Regions from separate parts of the Homo sapiens genome. Here regions 1, 2, 3, 5, 6 and 7 are each linked to region 4. Evidence: promoter capture Hi-C in 16 types of primary human blood cells and fetal thymus (Javierre and others, 2016). All regions are on one chromosome and are shown on one strand. Each heading gives the region's core, a stretch centred on a gene start or on the middle of the fragment in contact. The rest is flanking DNA. Distances are from core to core; before and after follow the strand shown. Region 1 overlaps LMNB1 (lamin B1). Region 2 overlaps LMNB1 (lamin B1). Region 3 overlaps MARCHF3 (membrane associated ring-CH-type finger 3). Region 4 holds the start of MARCHF3 (membrane associated ring-CH-type finger 3). Region 5 has its middle 97 kb from the start of MEGF10. Region 6 has its middle 39 kb from the start of MEGF10. Region 7 overlaps LOC105379199.

Region 1 (2,700 bases), core at 60-2,559, 200 kb before region 4:
AAGAGGAGGAGGAGGAAGAAGCAGCTGGAGTGGTTGTTGAGGAAGAACTTTTCCACCAGCAGGTATTACTTTATTTATTTAATATATTTATTTCAAATTTTATTCACAGAATTACATGAAGACCAAGAGTGTGGTTGGGTTTTTCCCCTATCAGTTGATGAACCAGCGCAGTTATCTACCAAGTGGGGTTTGTACTCCCCAAAGGGATATTCAAGGTGATACTTTAGGGTACTGGAAGAATATGTTGGCACTTTTATTTTTATTTTTTCTCATTGTACCAAGTTTCAGTTTTGTCCTTTGTTTTCTAATGTGCATTATGTGTTACAGTAAAACATGTCTATGGATTGGATGTTTACTCCAAACTTGTTTACTCTGTAGGGTCCTATGATTAAAAGGTTTAGATCACTAATTTAGAGCAAGAATCTGCATATAAACTTTAAAAAAACAAAGTAATATTCAACTTCAGTGTGAAACAAAATTCTTGCTGTATTAAGTTCCTAATCATTATCTAATTGAAGATAGATTTTGGCTGATGGTTGGGCTTTTGAGAGCCCTTGAAATAAAGAAACTCCAAATTTGGTTTTAATTATAATTAAATTGGAATTATTAATAACTAATGAGCCTTCAGTTTATATTCTCAAGCTGTTTGAGTCCGATCATTAATCAAAGTGTCTACCCTTATCCTGATAAGACTTTGTTTCCATGGCTCCAGATTTTTAGTCTTAAGTCTGCTTTGCTTCATTAGCCCTAGTCCTGGTCTAAATAAACACTGTCTCATATATTTAACCCCCAGGGTTGAGAACCACTTGAGGTGGGTTGCATGAAGTAGCATGAATTTTTTACCTGGATGCCTTCTCATACATTTTGGAGGAATATTTTAAAACACATATGTTACACTTAACTTACAAGAAACAAGCACAAGTTCCATTTTCTGTGCTTCAATGGGAACCATCGTAATTACTAGAAGTAAAATAATTATGTAAGAGATAACTCAAGGCACCAGACAAGAGGGTCAGCATGAGTTATATAGCATGTCAGATGCTAGAGGAGGTACTCCAGGCCAGCAGAGTAGTTGAGAAGAACTCTGTGAGGTGATGCTTGTCCACTAATTTGAAGGATGGGTGATTATTTGGTTATTGGAGAGAAGGCAGATGATGGTGCTCTGAGGATGTTGGAATTCACCATTGCTTCACTAACAGACCACCCCAAAGCTTAGTGGCTTAAAACAGTGATTTCTTACTTCCCATAATTCTGTGGTTTGACTGGGCTCAGCTGGGCAGTGTTTCTGTTCCACATGCTGCAGACTGAACTCAATCGAGCAGGCTGTGTTCAGCTCAGAGGTTGGCCTCGGCTGGAATATCTTTTAGGTCTCTTTCTGTGTGGATTTCTATGATTTAAGAGTTTAGTCAAAGCTTTATAGCATGGCAATTGTCTAACAGAGTAAGTGGAGGGTACAGGTTTCTTTCTTTTTTCTTTTTTTTTTTTGAGATAGAGTCTTGCTGTGTCGCCAGGCTGGAGCGCAGTGGCGCAATCTCAGCTCACCGCAACCTCCACCTCCCAGGTTCAAGAGATACCCCTGCCTCAGTCTCCCAAGTAGCTGGGATTACAGGCATGCGCCACCACGCCTGGCTAATTTTTTATATTGTAGTAGAGATGGAGTTTCACCATGTTGGCCACGACAATCTCAATCTCAAGAGAGTACCAGGTTTCTTAAAGGGCCCTTTGTAACATTCTCTTAGTCAAAGTCATGAGGCCAGTCCAGATTCAAAGTGGGGGTAAATAGTCTCCACCTGTTGGTGGGAGGAATGGCAAAGAATTCATGGTGATCTTTAACTCACTACAGAGGATGTGTAAAGAATGTGGCCGGGCACGGTGGCTTACGCCTGTAATCCCAGCAGTTTGGGAGGCAGGCAGATCACAAGGTCAGGAGATCGAGACCATCCTGGCTAACACGGTGAAACCCCGTCTCTACTAAAAATACAAAAAATTAGCCGGGCGTGGTGGCGGGAGCCTGTAGTCCCAGCTACTCGGGAGGCTGAGGCAGGAGAATGGCGTGAACCCGGGAGGCGGAGCTTGCAGTGAGCTGAGATGGCGCCACTGCACTCCAGCTTGGGTGACAGAGTGAGACTCTGCCTCATAAAAAAAGACTTAATGCACCAACTATATCCGCTCATCCAGTTATTTTGTAGGGTTCATGTGAGAGTTAAATGAAGTTGAAAGATTGGAATTAAACTGACATAGTCTGGAATGCTTAGGGATGTAGCTTCTGTACAATTTGGAACAAAGGAGAAGTTAAGACTGCATTTTAAAATATCACTGGCCAAGCTGAATCAGAGGGACTAACTCTAGAGAGGAGATTCCAGAGGCAGTGAGGGAATATATAATGGAAATTTATTAAGGCTTAGTGACTAAACTTGAGGGTGAGAGAAGAAAAAAAATAAAGATGTATGAGGTTTTTAGCTTTTGTGATCACAGAAACTAATGATACCAAGGTTCATAAGAGGGAAGATGGAAGGGCAGAACAGGCGTTTGAACTTCATATTTGAGGATGAATCCAATCGCCTTTTGAATTGATTAGAAATATTTTGGTGACCTTCAAAAAACCAGTTTTAGTTCAATCAGTGGTGAGTCACAAGTCATATTGTGAGGTTATATGAAATTAATGAGTGATAAAGAAATGGGTAGAGGAGCCATGTTGAC
Region 2 (2,700 bases), core at 187-2,686, 250 kb before region 4:
AAACGATAACTGCACTACCTCTTTCCGGAGGCAATCACATTTATCCCTTTTTGTTTTTATTTCTTTGGATATTTAGTTATACAACTCGAAAATAATACTAAGCTTGTATTTCCCTTTCTTGGATTTACTAAGCCTTGGTTTCATCTTTTAAAATGAGCAGTCAGTTAACTCACACTATTATTTCTATGTTCCTCCAAATTTTTTGCCACTGAATTCCTTCAAATCTTAGATATCGTTGCTTGTAAGACTTGCCATTATTATGTGTACCACTAAGAAAATAAAAACATCAGGACCAACTGTGTAGGATCCATCCTGTTGGACCCATCATGATGGGTTTCATAGATATTAAAATGTCAAACAGGGCCGGGCGTGGTGGCTCACGCCTGTAATCCCAGCGCTTTGGGAGGCGAGGTGAGCGGATCACTTGAGGTCAGGAGTTCGAGACCAGCCTGACCAATATGGTGAAACCCCGTCTCTACTAAAAATACAAAAATTGGCCGGACGCGGGGGCTCACGCCTGTAATCCCAGCACTTTGGGAGGCCGAGGCGGGCGGATCACGAGGTCAGGAGATCGAGGCCATCCTGGCTAACAAGGTGAAACCCCGTCTCTACTAAAAATACAAAAAATTATCCAGACGTGGTGGCATGCATCTGTAGTCTCAGCTACTTGGGAGGCTGAGGCAGGAGAATCGCTTGAACCCAGGAGGCGGATATTGCAGTGAGCTGAGATTGCGCCATTGCACCCCAGCCTGGCGACAGAGTGAGACCCCATCTCAAAAAAGAAAAAAAATCCGGGCGTGGTGGCGGGCGTCTGTAATCCCAGCTACTGGGGAGGCTGAGGCAGGAGAATCGCTTGATATCCAGGAGGCAGAGGCTGCAGTGAGCCAGATGGTCCACTGCACTCCAGCCTGGGTGACAGAGTGAGACTCCGTCTAAAAAAAAAAATTAACACAGATCAAATATCTGTTGCGTACCAGTCACCGTTCTATGTTAGAGGATATGAAGATTTTTTTAAAAAAATGAATTACTGTTCTTTGTTGCTGAGAGTGTAGTGGGGGAGCTATATCCCAGCAAGTAAAGAAAGATTGTCTTTTGTCTGATGTGAAGCATTTTGATGCTGGCGCTTTTGTAATCTTTCCAGGAGTTAGCCACAGGAGGTTTTTCACACAGTAACAAGGCTGCCACCTGGCTGACAGTAGTTGTAAATGTATCGATTCTAAAATGCATGCTGGTTTCAGCGGGGTTAAAAAATGAGAATAATGTGTATTAGAATCAATGAAATAATGCATGTGATACAATTTAGGTAATAGCAGATGCTAAGGGAATAAAAATAAAGCGGAGTGAAGGGTTAGTGTGATTAAGGAAGGCCTGTCTGAGGAGTTGACAGTACCTATTCTCTGAGGGTTAGTAGTGTTCTGGGATTATATTTTTCTTAAGTCTGTGCTACTGTATGTATATTCCTATTGCCAGGATTAGATGACTCTTCTTTTCCCCCCAACATACCATCATTTGCTCAAAACATGCCACATTTTAGTTTGCTCCTTATTTGAATTAGGACTTTTTTTATATGGATTTATTCCTCAATAGCTTTTCATTTTTCTTGTTAAGAAAAATTTGCCCTCAGTGTGTTTGCAGACTTTTTGAAGATATTTAATCATAATATCTATCACATGAATCTGCTTTCTTCCCTAGAGTTCTCTTTGCTTAAGGTAGGCTGTGTACTGATGTCCTGTAACTTATTAAAGACAGCTTCCTGGCCAGGCACGGTGGCTCACACCTGTAAAGCACTTTGAGAGGCCTAGGCAGGTGGATCACCTGAAGTCAGGAGTTCAAGACTAGCCTGTCCAACATGGCGAGACCCCGTCTCTACTAAAAATACACAAATTAGCCGCGTGTGGTAGTGGACGCCTGCAATCCCAGTTACTGTGGAGGCTGAGGCAGGAGGCATTGCTTGAACCGGGGAGGCGGAGGTTGCAGTGAGCTGAGATCACACCACCGCACTCCATCCTGGGTGTATTTTCCTTTTCCTTGGTTTCTTCATATTTTGTTGAAGAACATCCTTAAGTAATTTATTCAGAAAGGATGGCAGGAGGTAAACTTTCTGAGTCCTGTATGTCTGAAAATAGCTTTGGGCTAGGTATAGAATACTAGGTTAACATTTTTCCAGAACTTGGAAAGTATTATTTTGCCCTATTGTCTTCTGGCATCTAGGGTTGTTAATGTCTTTCTTTTTTTTTTGAGACGGAGCTTGGCTCACTGCAACCTCCGCCTCCCAGGTTCAAGCGATGCTCTTGACCCAGCCTCCCAAGTAGCTGGGATTACAGGTGTGCACCACCACACCCGGCTAATTTTGTATTTTTAGTAGAGACGGGGTTTCACCGTGTTGGCCAGGCTGGTCTCCAACTCCTGACCTCAGGTGATCCACCCACCTCGGCCTCCCAAGGTGCTGGGATTATAGGCGTGAGCCACCATGCCTGGCCTATATTTAATTTTTTATTTGGAACTAGAGTGTTTGTAATTAAGTATAATCATCATTTAGGTAGATTTAGATTAAGAAAACAGCTTTGAGAGAATTATAGATTCCAGGTTACTTAGTTTCTTTTTGGTTCCTCAGCAAACAAGATACCTTAGAGGCAGAGCATGGAAATGCTTGGTCTAAAGAGAATTTGGCAACAGTTTCCATGCAGGTGGTGTCTGAAT
Region 3 (2,700 bases), core at 154-2,653, 140 kb before region 4:
GTGATGCTCCCTGGAGGACTTAGGCCAATAAGCCAATTAACGGGCTATAATGCTCCATAAATACTATGCTTATGCCTGGGACATTGTAATTTGGCTCTGACATTATTTAAACAAATGCTACACACACTCACACCAATGGTTTATTTTTCCAAGGATTAGATCAGTGGCACAACAGGATTAGATGGCAAATCATTTTATATATTCACTTGTAACTTCAGACATACACAAAATAAAAATAATCTCTAATTATTTTAGATCATTACAGCATAGGAGTGATCACAGCCAAATGGAGATTGCTTATCTGAAATATGAGAAGATACTTCAGAATTATGTGGCATATCTGATCAATGTAAAGCAAGAAACATGAGATAACCAAGACAGAATGGAGAGCAAGGAAACAGAAGTTTTTAGAATAAATTGATAAAATGCATAGTGCCAAAAGTAGATATTATTTATTTTGGGAACAATAAATTCATACTGTGTGGTTTTTCTTTTTTTGAGATGGAGTCTCGCTCTGTCACCCAGGCTGGAGTGCAGTGGCACAATCTTGGCTCACTGCAACCTCCACCTCCCAGGTTCAAGCTATTCTCGTGCCTCAGCCTCCTGAGTATCTGAGATTACACACATGCACCACCACGCCCGGGTAATTTTTGTACTTTTAGTAGAGATGGGGTTTTGCCATGTTGGCCAGGCTGTTCTTGAACTCCTGACTTCAAGTGATCCACCCGCCTTGGCCTCCCAAAGTGCTGGGATTACAGGTGTGAGCCACTGTGGCTGGCCCTGTATGGTCTTTTTAAACACAAATAGCAGCTCTCATTCCCCTGATCTTGCTTCATTTTAATTCTTACTGGCCCCCAGACTGGAAGGTTACTGGTGTCTAATGACCACTCCGTTGGACTGCTGTTGGAGTCTGGGTTTCTGAACATTTGAATAATTACTTCCAGCAGAAGTACATGATCATGGGATACACTGTACCAGGACAGTGTACCAAATAAGAGCCCCCACTGGAGCACCAGACAAAAGATGAGAATACGATAAATAACATGAATATGAACAATAAATTCCTATTTTGATAATAGGGATGTTTGAAGGAATAGAGAGGAAAAAATAACATTCAAAACCAGGTTTTCAAAATGGTACTACACTTACATATCTGTGTCCCTCAGGTGTAGTGAGAATGTGAGTAAGAAAACTATCCAAGCAGAGTATGGTGGAGGGATTTCAAGGAAATACAATGCACACGGAAAACAGACGACAGAGCAGACAATGTCACCACATGCTCCCAAAGTAAGCAAGAATGGGAACACTTTGAAAAAGGGGAAATTTCTTCCAAATAGAAGGACCATGAAAACAGAGGAACTCTTGGATTTGCAGTCCCTATAGTCCAATGTTTTGCTGCCTAAAAGGGCCCCACATATTTACGAGGGCCTGGCTGACTTGGCTGACATTAGATACATCCTAGCACCTAATGGATTAGGAATCATTCAAGGCTCCACTTGAGGCAGCGGCTTAAGTTCATGCACCACGATGGAGGTGGTATCTCCTTATTTTTGTTCTAAACTCTGTCTTTGAATTTCAAAGGGATCCCACCACCATTTAAGTAATTTGGAATGTGTGAGGCACTCCCTGTTCACATTGTCTAAGCTGTTCATGATTTTCAAGATTTCAGACATGTCCCTCAGTAGCATCCTCACATCTAGATTAGTAGCATCCTCACATCTAGATTAGTAGCATCCTCATATCTCTCACTTTCTGTGCAGGCATCTGTGTTAACCACTCCCCTGGACTTTTTGGATATCTTTCACTGGGTATGGGGCCCAGAATATCAGATTACCAGGTGAAGACACCTCGCTGTGTTATCTGAGCAGAGGGCAATGTTCTCTATTTTGCTGGTCTTACTTCCTTTGATTATGTTTAATGTTTGTAGATCACTTTGCTATAAAACTCACAGACTTGTCTTCAGAAAAGACATACTTTTTTTTTTTTTGAGGTAATGGTATGTTTTCTTTTTTATTATTATACTTTAAGTTTTAGGGTACATGTGCACATTGTGCAGGTTAGTTACATATGTATACATGTGCCATGCTGGTGCACTGCACCCACTAACTCGTCATCTAGCATTAGGTATATCTCCCAATGCTATCCCTCCCCCCTCCCCCCACCCCACAACAGTCCCCAGACTGTGATATTCCCCTTCCTGTGTCCATGTGATCTCATTGTTCAATCCCCACCTATGAGTGAGAATATGCAGTGTTTGGTTTTTTGTTCTTGCGATAGTTTACTGAGAATGAAGTTTTCCAGTTTCATCCATGTCCCTACAAAGGGCATGAACTCATCATTTTTTATGGCTGCATAGTATTCCATGGTGTATATGTGCCACATTTTCTTAATCCAGTCTATCATTGTTGGACATTTGGGTGGGTTCCAAGTCTTTGCTATTGTGAATAATGCCGCAATAAACATACATGTGCATGTGTCTTTATAGCAGCATGATTTATAGTCCTTTGGGTATATACCCAGTAATGGGATGGCTGGGTCAAATGGTATTTCTAGTTCTAGATCTCTGAGGAATCGCCACACTGACTTCCACAATGGTTGAACTAGTTTACAGTCCCACCAACAGTGTAAAAGTGTTCCTATTTCTCCACATCCTCTCCAGCACCTGTTGTTTCCTGACTTTTTAATGATCGCCATTCTAAC
Region 4 (2,700 bases), core at 132-2,631:
CTTCATATATTTACCTCATTCACCTTTTAATTTTATATATACACACACTCACACATATACACGTATGTATGTGTGTATATGCGCATCTACATCTTCATATACACATACAGAACTATATATCTCAACATTTTCATGTATTTTCAAAGGTCTAAACATCCCCAAATTCTGGACCTGTTTCTGTCTAGTATTTTCAAAAGCTCTTATTCATGTCAAATAAGAATTGTAAGAAAATATCGTATTGAATTCTGTTTATTCCGCACATAATATAAACTACATGCATGTAGTTGGTCTCAGAAAAACAAGCTGCTTTTACCCCCTTACCATTAAGGGGGGAAAACAATCTAACCCAGACCGAGTCACAAACGGAGTGTCAGGTTTAACCTTGAGTTCTCTGCTGTCAATTCCTGACTCAACTTCATCACTTAAACACGCAGGTGCTCAAACAAACACCAACCGACCAGGCTGGCAATCCCTTTCGCAGCCTCTAGGATTCTCCAAGGCACTGGGCACCAGAACCGACAGCAGCTCCCGCCTGGTCCTAACGAAGTCCTTCGGACACCCCTTGCGGGTGGATGTGGAGGTCCGAGCACCTCAGGAGGGTCATGGATTCAAGTGCTAATAGAAAGCAATTACTTTAGAAAGTTCAAAGCCCAGCAGTGCTCTCAATTCCTCTCAGTAGCTGCAGAGCACTGAAGCCCCCGCTACAGAACCCGGCTGGTACTCCAGTTCTCTGGCGCTGAGACCCACCTTGAGCCCGATGAGCGCTCGCTCAGCCTTGAGATCCAGACGCGGACGCCGGGTCTTACCGTACCGCACAGCGCGGGTAATTTTTCAGGAACCGCGGTCCGCACGCCGCGGGCGCGGAGGCCGCCCCAGCGCTCCATGTCGTTGCCGCAGAGGGGCAGGGGACGCGTCCCGGCCCCACCTACCCATGTCAATTACGCCAAGTTGGTGCGGACTGGAACCGCGTCCCGGGCGGAGTTGGGATGCTTTGACAAGAAGAAGTTCGGGAGTGGGGATATTGGCACGGAGTAAATCCCGCCCAGCCCTGACCTCCCCACAGCGGTCACGCTCGGACGAACGGACCGCCGAGCGCCAGGACGCGTCCCGTCCCCTCTCGCCGCCGCCGAACCGCGCCGAGAGGAGCCGCTAGCCCGGCGCGCGGCCACTCACCGTCCTCGCCGAGTCCCGATAGCAAACCGACGTCCCTGCTGCGGTTCTAAGTGCCAAGTTGCCCCCAGTCGGTGGCTGCTCACGGCCCAGTGGACCAGGGCACATTGGTTCCGGCGGGCACCTCAGGGGGAGTGCGGCAAGCCTGGCGGCCGCCGCGGCCACACAGTCGCCCACAGCGCGCTGACAATTCACGGACCTGCTCAACGAGTGAGGCGGAAAGCAGGGCTAAGCCGACCAGGCTCTGGAGGGGAGGCGGGGCTGCCGCTAGGGGCGGAGCCAGCCCCGGGGCGTCATCAGCCCATGACTGGCGGAGCCGACAGCCAGTCGTGGTGGCGCTGGGACCGCCCCGTAACCGCCGTCCAGTCGCCTGCGGCCGAGGGCAGGCTGGCGGGACGCGCCGGCGGCGGGGAAGTTGGTTATTGCGAAGTGCCGTGGCTGCCGGCGGGCGCTGCGGGACTCTCTGCAATGGGACCCGAGCAGCTCTAGAGGGAGGCGGCGGCCCCAGAAGGCCGTTGGCTGAGAGAGACCAGGAGCCCTCGGAGCCGCCGCGCGCATAGCGCTGTGGAGCAAGAAGCCAACCGCAGCGCGGGTCGACACGCCAGTATCTGGCACCGGCAGGAGGCGCGGAACTTAGCTGCCCCATCGGAACCCCGCCCGGAGGAAGCTGAGGGCCGAGAAAGGATGAATTCCGGACCGGGTCGCCCAGCCACAAGTGGAAACCTGGGCTCTCTGGAAAACGTTCTGATCTCGATCTGGCTATCTCTGAAACAAAACTCCAGCCCCGCAAACCTCCCAAAGTTCAGTACACGTCCCCGTCCTCACCCCTGCCCTCCGGGCCACCTGCAGCGGGGGACTTACCGGCGCCTCGGGTCTCCTCCTCCCGACCCAGCGCGTCGCGGACACAGCTGGCGGCCAACAGGAGGCTTGGGCGCTCGACGGCGCCGGAACCTGTGAGACCGTCGCTCTGGGCGGGCTGCCGTGCGGGGTGGCATCCTCTGCGGTGACTTCTGCTGTCTTTTGGGTCCGCCAGGATTCCAAAATCCCAGGCGGGTCGCTAGAATTATCCATCTTCGTGGACAGGAAGCCCCAGAACGAACCACATCTGTCCCACTCTGCTTCCGCCCTCCTTCCCCTTCGCAAGCTCCTGGCTGGGATGGAGACATCGGACGAGCTCGGAGATCCCGACCTCTCAGGGGTCACTCGCAGCCGAACAGCCTGGAATATGGCCTTGTGGGCCCTTCCCGCCCAACCCCCTAGGACCCCACTGCTCATCTTGTCAACCAGTTTCTGAGCCCCTACCCTGGCTGCAGCACGTGCTCGCACAGGCGCGCTGAGCTACTAACATAGAATCAAAAGCAGGGAGTTGGGTGTTCTTGCTTTCCCGCTGAAACCTAGAATGTAAACAAGCCCTAGACCGTCAGCTGTGGGTGGGTAGGGGCCTCTCCCTGCCTAGAACTGCTCTTGCCATGGGTAGGCACCTAACCCGTATTAGTAAGAATGAAGGAATGCATGCTCATAACAAGAAAG
Region 5 (2,700 bases), core at 39-2,538, 160 kb after region 4:
TCCTGTGCTCAAGAGATCCTACTGTCTCAGGCTCCCAAGTAGCTGGCACTACAGATATGTGCCACTGCACCCACTATGGAATAGTAACTTTGAGCATGGGCAGTTTCCCAGAAGCATAGGCCTGTGTGGCTACTGCTTGGGTGTGTGTGGCTGACAGTGGAAGGAAGATGAAAGGAAAGAAGGTCTGTTTGTCCAGAGGGCAGAATCAGAGCTTTAGGTTTCTGGGAAGGGAGAAACAGCTGAGAGATGGAGGACAGTGTCCAGGGAAGAAGAAAAAGACAAACCCAATTTCATTGAGAGCAAATTTTGAGTAGCAGAATCTGAGAGAGTCCTAGGAAGCTTGCAGAGAAACTAGAAGCAAATCATAGCGTGGAGGGCAGAGCAATCATGTCTGTGGGATGAACAGAAGGATTTGAAAAATGCATGATTAGGTCAAAGACAGGAAGTTAACTACCAAAAATGTTATGAGCTATTCTCCAGAAAACAAGCTTTACTTGATACAGAAAGGGTAAACATTAGCTCCAAAGTAGCATTTCTTGTCGACAAAGACTGATATCATAAATCAACAAGGGAGGTTGTGAAATTCACAACCATTGAAGATAGCCCCAGTGTGGCCCTGCATGAAGTTGAGAAAACAAGAAATAACCACTTTTAAAGCCTTTTAGCCCTAGGATTCTTTGATTTATGGAAAAATTTAACATCTTTACTTTTTCTACTTCACCTATCATCTCATGTGCATGCGGCAAAGGTCTGAGTGTGTAGTTTACTGAGTAACAAGCCCAGAAACCCGCCGGAGCACACACACAGTGAGGTGACTCTGTCGCCCATAGAGCCACTAAAATGACATCAATAAATCATAAAATATGCCCAAGAGGGCATTATAAATCATTTAGAGTTGCTATTAATATTTTAGACATGTACATTTTTAGCAGTGTGTTAAATTTTAGTGTTTGCATTCCATTTTAATTTAGCACTTGATAATTGAAAAATGAGGCTGTTAAAAAATGATCTTAGATTTTTTTTTTTTTTGGTTAAACATTTAAGGATTGAATAGAATAAGGGAAATGGTCACTGCTAGATTCATTTTCTCTAAAATTGTTGCCTGGCACTTTGGATACTTATTCTCTTGGAGTAGGGGAGGGTGATAACCATTGGTCTTCCTTGGTAAGGAAGAAACATTTTGATCTCCCTTCCAGGCTGTGAAGCTCTTACTTTACGTGGCACTGTGGTGACTGGTAGAGTAAACAATTTATCCCAGTTTGTCCAGGGCTTTCCTGGTTTAAGCGTTCCTAAGAGACACCTCAGTGCAAAGCCAACTGAAATGGCTGGTTACCCTGGGTAGGCCCAAAGTCCAGAGTACTGGCTCCTGGAAAAATGGTAGATTTGATCACAGTAGTCTTTAGCACCTTCTTACTTTCTTTCTGTGACCTGCCTCTTGTATCTACTTTGGGAAAATCCCATAATTTAGTCTATGGGACTGACTTAAGTCATGTATTTGTCTCTCAACAATCACCGTGGCCAAGAAAGTGGACTACACTGATTGCCCAAGCCTGAGAAACATATCCAGACTTAGATGTGGGGATGGAATAAAGTCAGTCTCACCCAAATTATCTGCAAAGGGCAGGGAGGTGCCTCATCAAAGGAAAATTGAGAGGTCTATTACCAAAAGAAATAAAGGAATGAATTCCATGCAGGAAAAAGCTAGAAATGAACACTTGAAGTAGCTATTTAAATTGAGTTGGTTTGAGGTTGAAATGAGAAAATATAAAAGTATTTTATAAACTAAAATGTACTGTGCAATTTTTAAAAAGGCTCTTCTTTTATTAACTGATGTACTACTCTGCTCAGAGTTTAGAAATGAAAGATTTTGAAAGCCTGCACTCTGATTTGATTATTGGAACATTCACTATAAACCCATGCAAATAAAACCAGCATAGCCTTACTGGGAAAGCATAGCTGTGGCATATTCTTATTTTCCTTTTTGTTTTTCTTGTTGGCCTTATGGAGGAGAAAATCATGGAGGGAGTGAGGAAAAGAAAGAGAAGCTGGATAGCATTGCATATCAAGAAAAATTTATGGTCAACTAAACAAGCTTTCTCCGTTTCAAACATACTGTTTTATTTTGAAAAGTAAATATTGATTTTCTTAATATGAATGATAATTTAACCTGGGTATAATGATTATATAAGCATTAACTTTAAGCTATTTCTACTTAACCTAATTCCATTTTTTTCCTTTTTATTTCTTGGAGAGAATATTTCTTTTTCCTTCAATATTTCTGCTGTTCAGAAACCTATATACAGTAACTGATGTCAGCAAGATTGTGGAGTAGGAAGCCCTGGACCCGTCTTCTCCTACAAACACATCAATCCAGCAACAACTCGTAGACAAATTACCTGTGTGATGGAAATCCTCAGCTTTTGTTTGTCTGGTGAAGACAGCTTTTCCAGGGGTAAACAAGAGCTGAGGAAGTTTATCACCACCAGACATGCCTTACAAGAAATGCTAAAGGGAGTTCTTAAAGTTGAAATGAAAGGATGCCAAATAGAAGTATGATAGCATAAGAAAGTATGAAACTCATTGGTAGAGGTAAATATATGGACAAATACAAAATACTGCATTACTGTAATGGTGGTGGGAAAATCGCTTTAAAAAGCATAAAAGTTAAAGGCAAAAGTATAAAAAATAAATATAACCAAA
Region 6 (2,700 bases), core at 193-2,692, 220 kb after region 4:
TAAACAATAAGTGTTGGTAAGCTAGCAATAGAAGGAAACTTCATTGAACTAATAAAGATTAGCATAAAACAAGAACAAACACCATGTGTGATGTAAATCATTAGAAACATTCCTACTAAAGTTAGAGACAAGATAAACTTGCTGCCAGAACTGTTGTCTTTTAACCTTGTAATAGAGGTCCTAACTCTAACCAATGCAAATATATACAGACCAAAAAAGAATAACATGACACATAAATATTATAAAGAAAAGACACAGATATAATTATTTGGAAACTAAAGATTGCCATGCAAATCCAAGGAATTATCTGAAAAAATTATTAGAATCAGTAAAATTCAGTACGACAGATACAAAATTAACATAGAAAAAAATCAATGCTTTCCTATATATTATCAATAATATACTAAAGAATGAAACAGAGAAAAAAACCTATTTACAATAATAATAAAAAACCCTAACAGTTGTAAGATTCATATGTTGAAAACTGTAAAATATAGAAAAAAATCCAATAATGCAGATATGCAGGACTTTTCTAAACAGAAGACAATTTTTGTTGAGATATCAGTCCTCCTCAAGTTAATTTAGAAATGTAATGCAATCCTAATCATTATTTATGAAACTTAACATGCTATTTTATTGGTCAAATGGTAGACAAAATAGCAAGTAACCTGGAAAACTCCTAGAAGAAAAAATGAGGGAAACTTGTCTTTCAAAAATTAAAACAAATTTGAAAATATAAAAGTATAGGGTTTGCGCAGGTATAGGCAGAGATATTGGTTAATAAGATTGGATGGAATCTAGGAGGAGCAGTATGCACATCAGGGTTTAGTATAGTAAAGAGCACTGGATCTCAAGCCAGGCCACACAGTAGCTGTGCGTTCTTGAAGTTACTTAAACTCTTTGTGCCTTGGTTTCCTTATGCGTAAAAGAGGGATCATTATACTACCTACGTCTTATGGTTGTTGTGAAGATTAAATACATTAATATACAGAAAGCACTTAGAAGAGTGCCTGAAATGTGGTCAGAACTACGTAAGTGCTTGCTGCTATTAATAATAAAAATGGCAAACAATTAAGTAGGAAAATGAATTACTTTACAAATTAGGGTGAAGCTTGGTTATCCATTTTCAAAGCAATACAGTTAGGGGTGATTGGTTATCCATTTTGAAAGAAATACATTTAGACATATGCCTTAAACCATACCCAAAAAGCCAAACATAAAAGTACTAGACATAGCTGCAGAAAAAATATAAGCTTGGGGTAAAGAAAGCCTATCGAAGTAAGATATAAAACATTAAAACCATAAAGGAAAATAATCAAATATTTAAATACATTAAAATTTAAAAGGAAACTTCTGCATGCAAAAGACGTAGTAACATAATAGACAACCTTCAGCCTGGATATATATTTGCATTATATTAGCAAAGGATTAATATCAGTAAGCATCAATAGGAAAATAACAATCCCTCCAATAGAAAAATGAATGATGGATATTAAAAAGCAATTTATAGAAAAAGAAATACAAATGTTCAATAAACCCTACAAAATATTCAACCTCATTGGTAATCAGATAAATGTAAATTAATGTGATACATTTTAATCAATTTTCACTAATCAGATTAACAAAATTATAGAAGCTTTATAATACCCAGGGTTAGTAAGGATATGATAGATTAACACAATGATACCTTATTGGTAGGAGGATAAGAAGACAAAATCTTTTTGGAGAAAATTTTTTTACTATCTATTAAGATTAAAACTGCCTTTTTTTTTTACTTAGTTATTCCACATTTATGATCTTATTCTGAAGAATATTTTGCATGCAGTGGGCCTAAAAGTCTATGTACAAGAATGATCATGGCAGGTTTGTTCATGATAGTGAAAAGAGGGAAACATCCAAATACTCATAGTAGAAGAGTAGTTAAAGAGTGTATGGTAAAGCCATAATGTTGAATACTATGCAGCTATTAAAAAGGATGAAGTACATATAGTTTCATATCATTTATAATATATATGTGAAAAGCTTTTCAAGGAATAAGTGAAAGAGTAGTTTCAGAATAGCTCTATTTATTCTTTACACATGTATTAATGCACATATACTTGCACGTTGTGTTTACATATAAATATGTGAGGGTGTAGGAAAAATAATGAAAATAAAAGTACTAAATTGTTAATTGTGGTTAACTCTGGGGATGGGTGGGATAGGGTGAGAGAGACAGACTGCATTTTTAGTCTTTTCAATTAGGTATAGTTTTAACTTTCTATGATGAAAGTCCACTTATACACATCTTGTATAATAAAGGACAATGAAACATAATAGAAGAATAGCTACTGAAGATCTCAAAGAAAGACCAGGAGGCAGGTTGTTTTCTTGACAAATGCTCTTAATATCTAATTCCTATGACTTTAGCACTGTTTCAGCGCAAAGACATGAATTTTTTTTTTGAGACAGAGTGATGAATTTTAATTCATTTAATATGGCTAGCATAATCATGAAGCCAAATTTGACAAAGATAACATAGGGATAACACAACACTACAATTCATACTCATAAACACGGATACAAACATTTAAAATAAAGTGCTGAAAAATCCAGTTAATAACGAAGTACTGTTTCTTCTAAAAATGCAAAAGTGATTTAACACTTTGACAAATATTAATGCTTTTCATAGGTTAAAAGAGACAAAGCATGTGATTGTCT
Region 7 (2,700 bases), core at 187-2,686, 250 kb after region 4:
GGGTAACCAGGAAAGTCTTGCTAGGGGCTCCAATTCCCTTGTTTACCATATTATAACCATATAAACATAACTATCTTTTTCTTAGTGTAGTCAAAGCACTGCACTTAGTGAAACAACCTTCTGTTGTTTTCATGTCAGTGACATTCCAGAGTGTGAAGACTCCGAGGTAAATTAATGTACAAGAAATGTAAGGAAAGGCTCTGCCAGAGCACTTGCTCTTCACCTGTGTAAACACATCATGACCATTTAAGGCTGTAAACCGTAGGATATAGTATTAATATCCCAGAGGGTAGTTGGGTAAATAACAAGGCAGGCTAATATGAATTCCCTGGGTTTAAAGAAAAATTAAAGCCTTGATTAATTAATTCATTATGTGCAGCTTCTCCTCCCTTCCTTTACTTTTATAGCAGGAGTGAGATAATTATTATAATCTGAGAGATAAGCCTGCTTCAACTGAGAGCTGTGTTTGGGCAACTCTGTGGTTTGGGCAAATGGATTAAGTGACTTAATAAATTCATATTCAGAAGACTGTGATGTTAAAAAGAATTTCCTACTTAGGAAAGATAATTTCCAAGTGGAAAACAAAAATCCTCTACTGAGTTATAAAACTTTTGTTTAAAATATATTCATTATATTTGAGAATTGCTATGCATGAGGACATCTCTTCATGCTTGAGATACATCAGTACACAAAATAGGCAAAGATTAAGAAGTTTTTATTTTAGTGGGAGAAAGACATAGCAAACAATAAACATAATGAATAAGTAAATTATATAGGATAGTAGAAGGTGAAAAGTGGTATTAAAAAAGAAAAGGTAGAGCATGGTAAAGGGGATCAGGTGTGTTGGGGAAGGGGTGATGGGCTACAATACTGAATAAGAAGGCTCATTGAGAAGATGAAATTTGAGTAAGATGTGTAGGAGATCAGGGAGCAAGCCACACATTCCAGGCAGAGGGAACTGCAAGGGCTCTAAGGTAGAAGTCAGTCTGGTGTATTTGAATAAAAGCAAGGGGACCAAAGTATCTGAAGTATAGAGCAAGAGGAGAGCAAAGTATCTGAAGTATAGAGCAAGAGGAGAGCAGAAGATAAAACCAAGAAGCACTGAGAGTAGTGGATACCATGTGCGCTTCAGGACCAAGGCACTCATTTCCCCAGGTGCAAGAGTTTTTGGATGTAGATGGCTCCTAGCTCAGTTCCTCATCTGGAATTGCCTTCAACAGAAAAGAACTTCATTTGCAAGGTTATGCTCTCTCCTGGGAGCAGACCACATCCAAAGACTGTCATTGAGGGAGTATAGGAGTTGGGTGCTCTTGCCTCAATTCAGGCCAGCTCTGTGGGCCTATTGTAACTGTATCACAGTCCACTGGTCCTTCTGCCGAATTCTGCTTTCCTCACTTCCTTACAAGTGTTACTCCTGAGAGCAAACCCAAGAAACCTCCTGCTTACAAATCTCCATCTCAGAGTCCATTTTCTGGAGAACAAGACTTGAAACAGAGGCACTGTGAACACTTTGACTCTAAGATGGGAGAACATGGGGGCTAGAGTAAGAGAGAAACATGATCTAACTTATGTTTTAACAAGATAACTTTAGCTGTGGCACTGGGAGTGGTTGGTGGAGGGTTAAGGTCAGAAACAGGGAGAACAATAAAGAGACCACTGCATTAATTCAGGGGTAATGATGAAGGTCTGGAGTAGGTTGGTGAATGTATTTTGAAGGTAGAGCCTACAGAATTTGCTTATAGTTTGAATGGAGGGTGTGAGAGAAAGAGCAGCTCAAGGATGACACCAAGGTTTTTGATATAAGCAAATGAAAGGAAAAAGATGCCATTTGCTGAGATGGAGATGACAAGGATGAATTTGGGAAGGGCAGACTGTTGGGGGAAAATTAGGAGTTGGGTTTTGAACATATTAATTTTGAGATGCACATCTGTGAACCAAGTGGTGATGTCCAGGAGGCAGCTGGGCAGAGGTCAAGCCTGAAGATCTATATTTAGGAGTGGTCAGTAAAGGAATGGTATTTATAGTTCTGAGCCTGAATGAGATAGTTTATGGAGTTATTGTAGCTAGAAAAGAAAAGTGATCCAATGACTGAGACCTGGGCACTTCAAAATTTAGAGGTTGGAAAGATGTGAAGAAACCAACAAAGGTAACACAGAAGGAGCCACCAGAGAGAAAAAGGGAAAACTATAAAAAGTCTGGTATCCAGGATATCAAGTCAAGGAAGATATTCAATGAAGGGAAGAGAAAAATGTTTCTGACAATTGGTTTCAGCAAATTGGATCTCATTTGATTACCTTGAAAAAAAAAAGAGAGCAGTATTAAATTGAGGGTTGGGGCCAAAACCCTGATTAGAGGAGATTTAAGAGAGAATAGAAGGAAAATATATGATACTAAGTTTAGAAATTTAATTCAAGGAGTTTACAGTGAAGAGAATAGCTGTAGGAGGAGAACCAAACAGAGTTCTTTTTTTAAGTGGAAGAAATATTTGTGAATGCTGATGGGAATACTCTTGTTGAGAGGAGAGAATTAATAATGCAGGAAAGACAGGGAGAAATCCACGTCATTTGGGAGGCCCAAGGGAAAGAATTTAGTGCATAAGTGAGGAGGACAGCCTTAAATGAGAGTGTGGTCAATTCATCAGGAGGGAAGACAAAGCACACGACCAGACATGAAGGTGGATGACCAGCTGTAGTTGCAGAA

What was found. Contacts are between HindIII fragments. The CHiCAGO score rates a contact against its expected background, and 5 or more counts as called.
Region 1: a fragment that was not itself captured here is called in contact with the fragment with the promoter of MARCHF3 in region 4 in 17 of 17 cell types (total B cells, naive B cells, erythroblasts and 14 more); the score reaches 31.5 in total B cells.
Region 2: a contact is called between a fragment that was not itself captured here and the fragment with the promoter of MARCHF3 in region 4, in 14 of 17 cell types (neutrophils, total B cells, naive B cells and 11 more). The highest score is 19.3, in neutrophils.
Region 3: a contact is called between a fragment that was not itself captured here and the fragment with the promoter of MARCHF3 in region 4, in 2 of 17 cell types (erythroblasts and total B cells). The highest score is 8.5, in erythroblasts.
Region 5: a fragment that was not itself captured here is called in contact with the fragment with the promoter of MARCHF3 in region 4 in 2 of 17 cell types (M2 macrophages and total B cells); the score reaches 6.0 in M2 macrophages.
Region 6: a contact is called between a fragment that was not itself captured here and the fragment with the promoter of MARCHF3 in region 4, in 7 of 17 cell types (naive B cells, M2 macrophages, megakaryocytes and 4 more). The highest score is 11.0, in naive B cells.
Region 7: a fragment that was not itself captured here is called in contact with the fragment with the promoter of MARCHF3 in region 4 in 5 of 17 cell types (naive B cells, M2 macrophages, M0 macrophages and 2 more); the score reaches 8.2 in naive B cells.

The regions. Positions count from the first base shown.
Region 1 is chr5:126,832,740-126,835,439 of GRCh38, forward strand. It overlaps LMNB1 (lamin B1), which reads left to right. Exons shown (of 11, transcript NM_005573.4): 10 at 1-62. Among named protein-coding and RNA genes, the nearest start is that of LMNB1, 57 kb to the left of the region's middle. The HindIII fragment of the contact is 201 bases long and covers 1,210-1,410 here.
Region 2 is chr5:126,779,256-126,781,955 of GRCh38, forward strand. All of the region lies in intron 1 of LMNB1 (lamin B1), which reads left to right. Among named protein-coding and RNA genes, the nearest start is that of LMNB1, 3.5 kb to the left of the region's middle. RefSeq lists enhancers at 851-920, 931-1,020. The HindIII fragment of the contact is 2,673 bases long and covers 101-2,700 here.
Region 3 is chr5:126,888,285-126,890,984 of GRCh38, forward strand. All of the region lies in intron 3 of MARCHF3 (membrane associated ring-CH-type finger 3), which reads right to left. Among named protein-coding and RNA genes, the nearest start is that of LMNB1, 110 kb to the left of the region's middle. The HindIII fragment of the contact is 5,941 bases long and covers 1-2,700 here.
Region 4 is chr5:127,029,177-127,031,876 of GRCh38, forward strand. MARCHF3 (membrane associated ring-CH-type finger 3) reads right to left here and starts at 1,382. Exons shown (of 5, transcript NM_178450.5): 1 at 1,174-1,382. It overlaps LOC105379163 (a long non-coding RNA gene), which reads left to right and starts at 2,167. Exons shown (of 2, transcript XR_007058920.1): 1 at 2,167-2,700. RefSeq lists a silencer at 1,344-1,723 and an enhancer at 1,720-2,264. The HindIII fragment of the contact is 7,560 bases long and covers 1-2,700 here.
Region 5 is chr5:127,192,583-127,195,282 of GRCh38, forward strand. No RefSeq gene overlaps it. Among named protein-coding and RNA genes, the nearest start is that of MEGF10, 97 kb to the right of the region's middle. The HindIII fragment of the contact is 1,604 bases long and covers 487-2,090 here.
Region 6 is chr5:127,250,471-127,253,170 of GRCh38, forward strand. It overlaps a transcript of MEGF10 not described here. Among named protein-coding and RNA genes, the nearest start is that of MEGF10, 39 kb to the right of the region's middle. The HindIII fragment of the contact is 383 bases long and covers 1,252-1,634 here.
Region 7 is chr5:127,276,030-127,278,729 of GRCh38, forward strand. The region is part of intron 2 of LOC105379199; the gene reads right to left. It also overlaps a transcript of MEGF10 not described here. Among named protein-coding and RNA genes, the nearest start is that of MEGF10, 13 kb to the right of the region's middle. The HindIII fragment of the contact is 4,674 bases long and covers 1-2,700 here.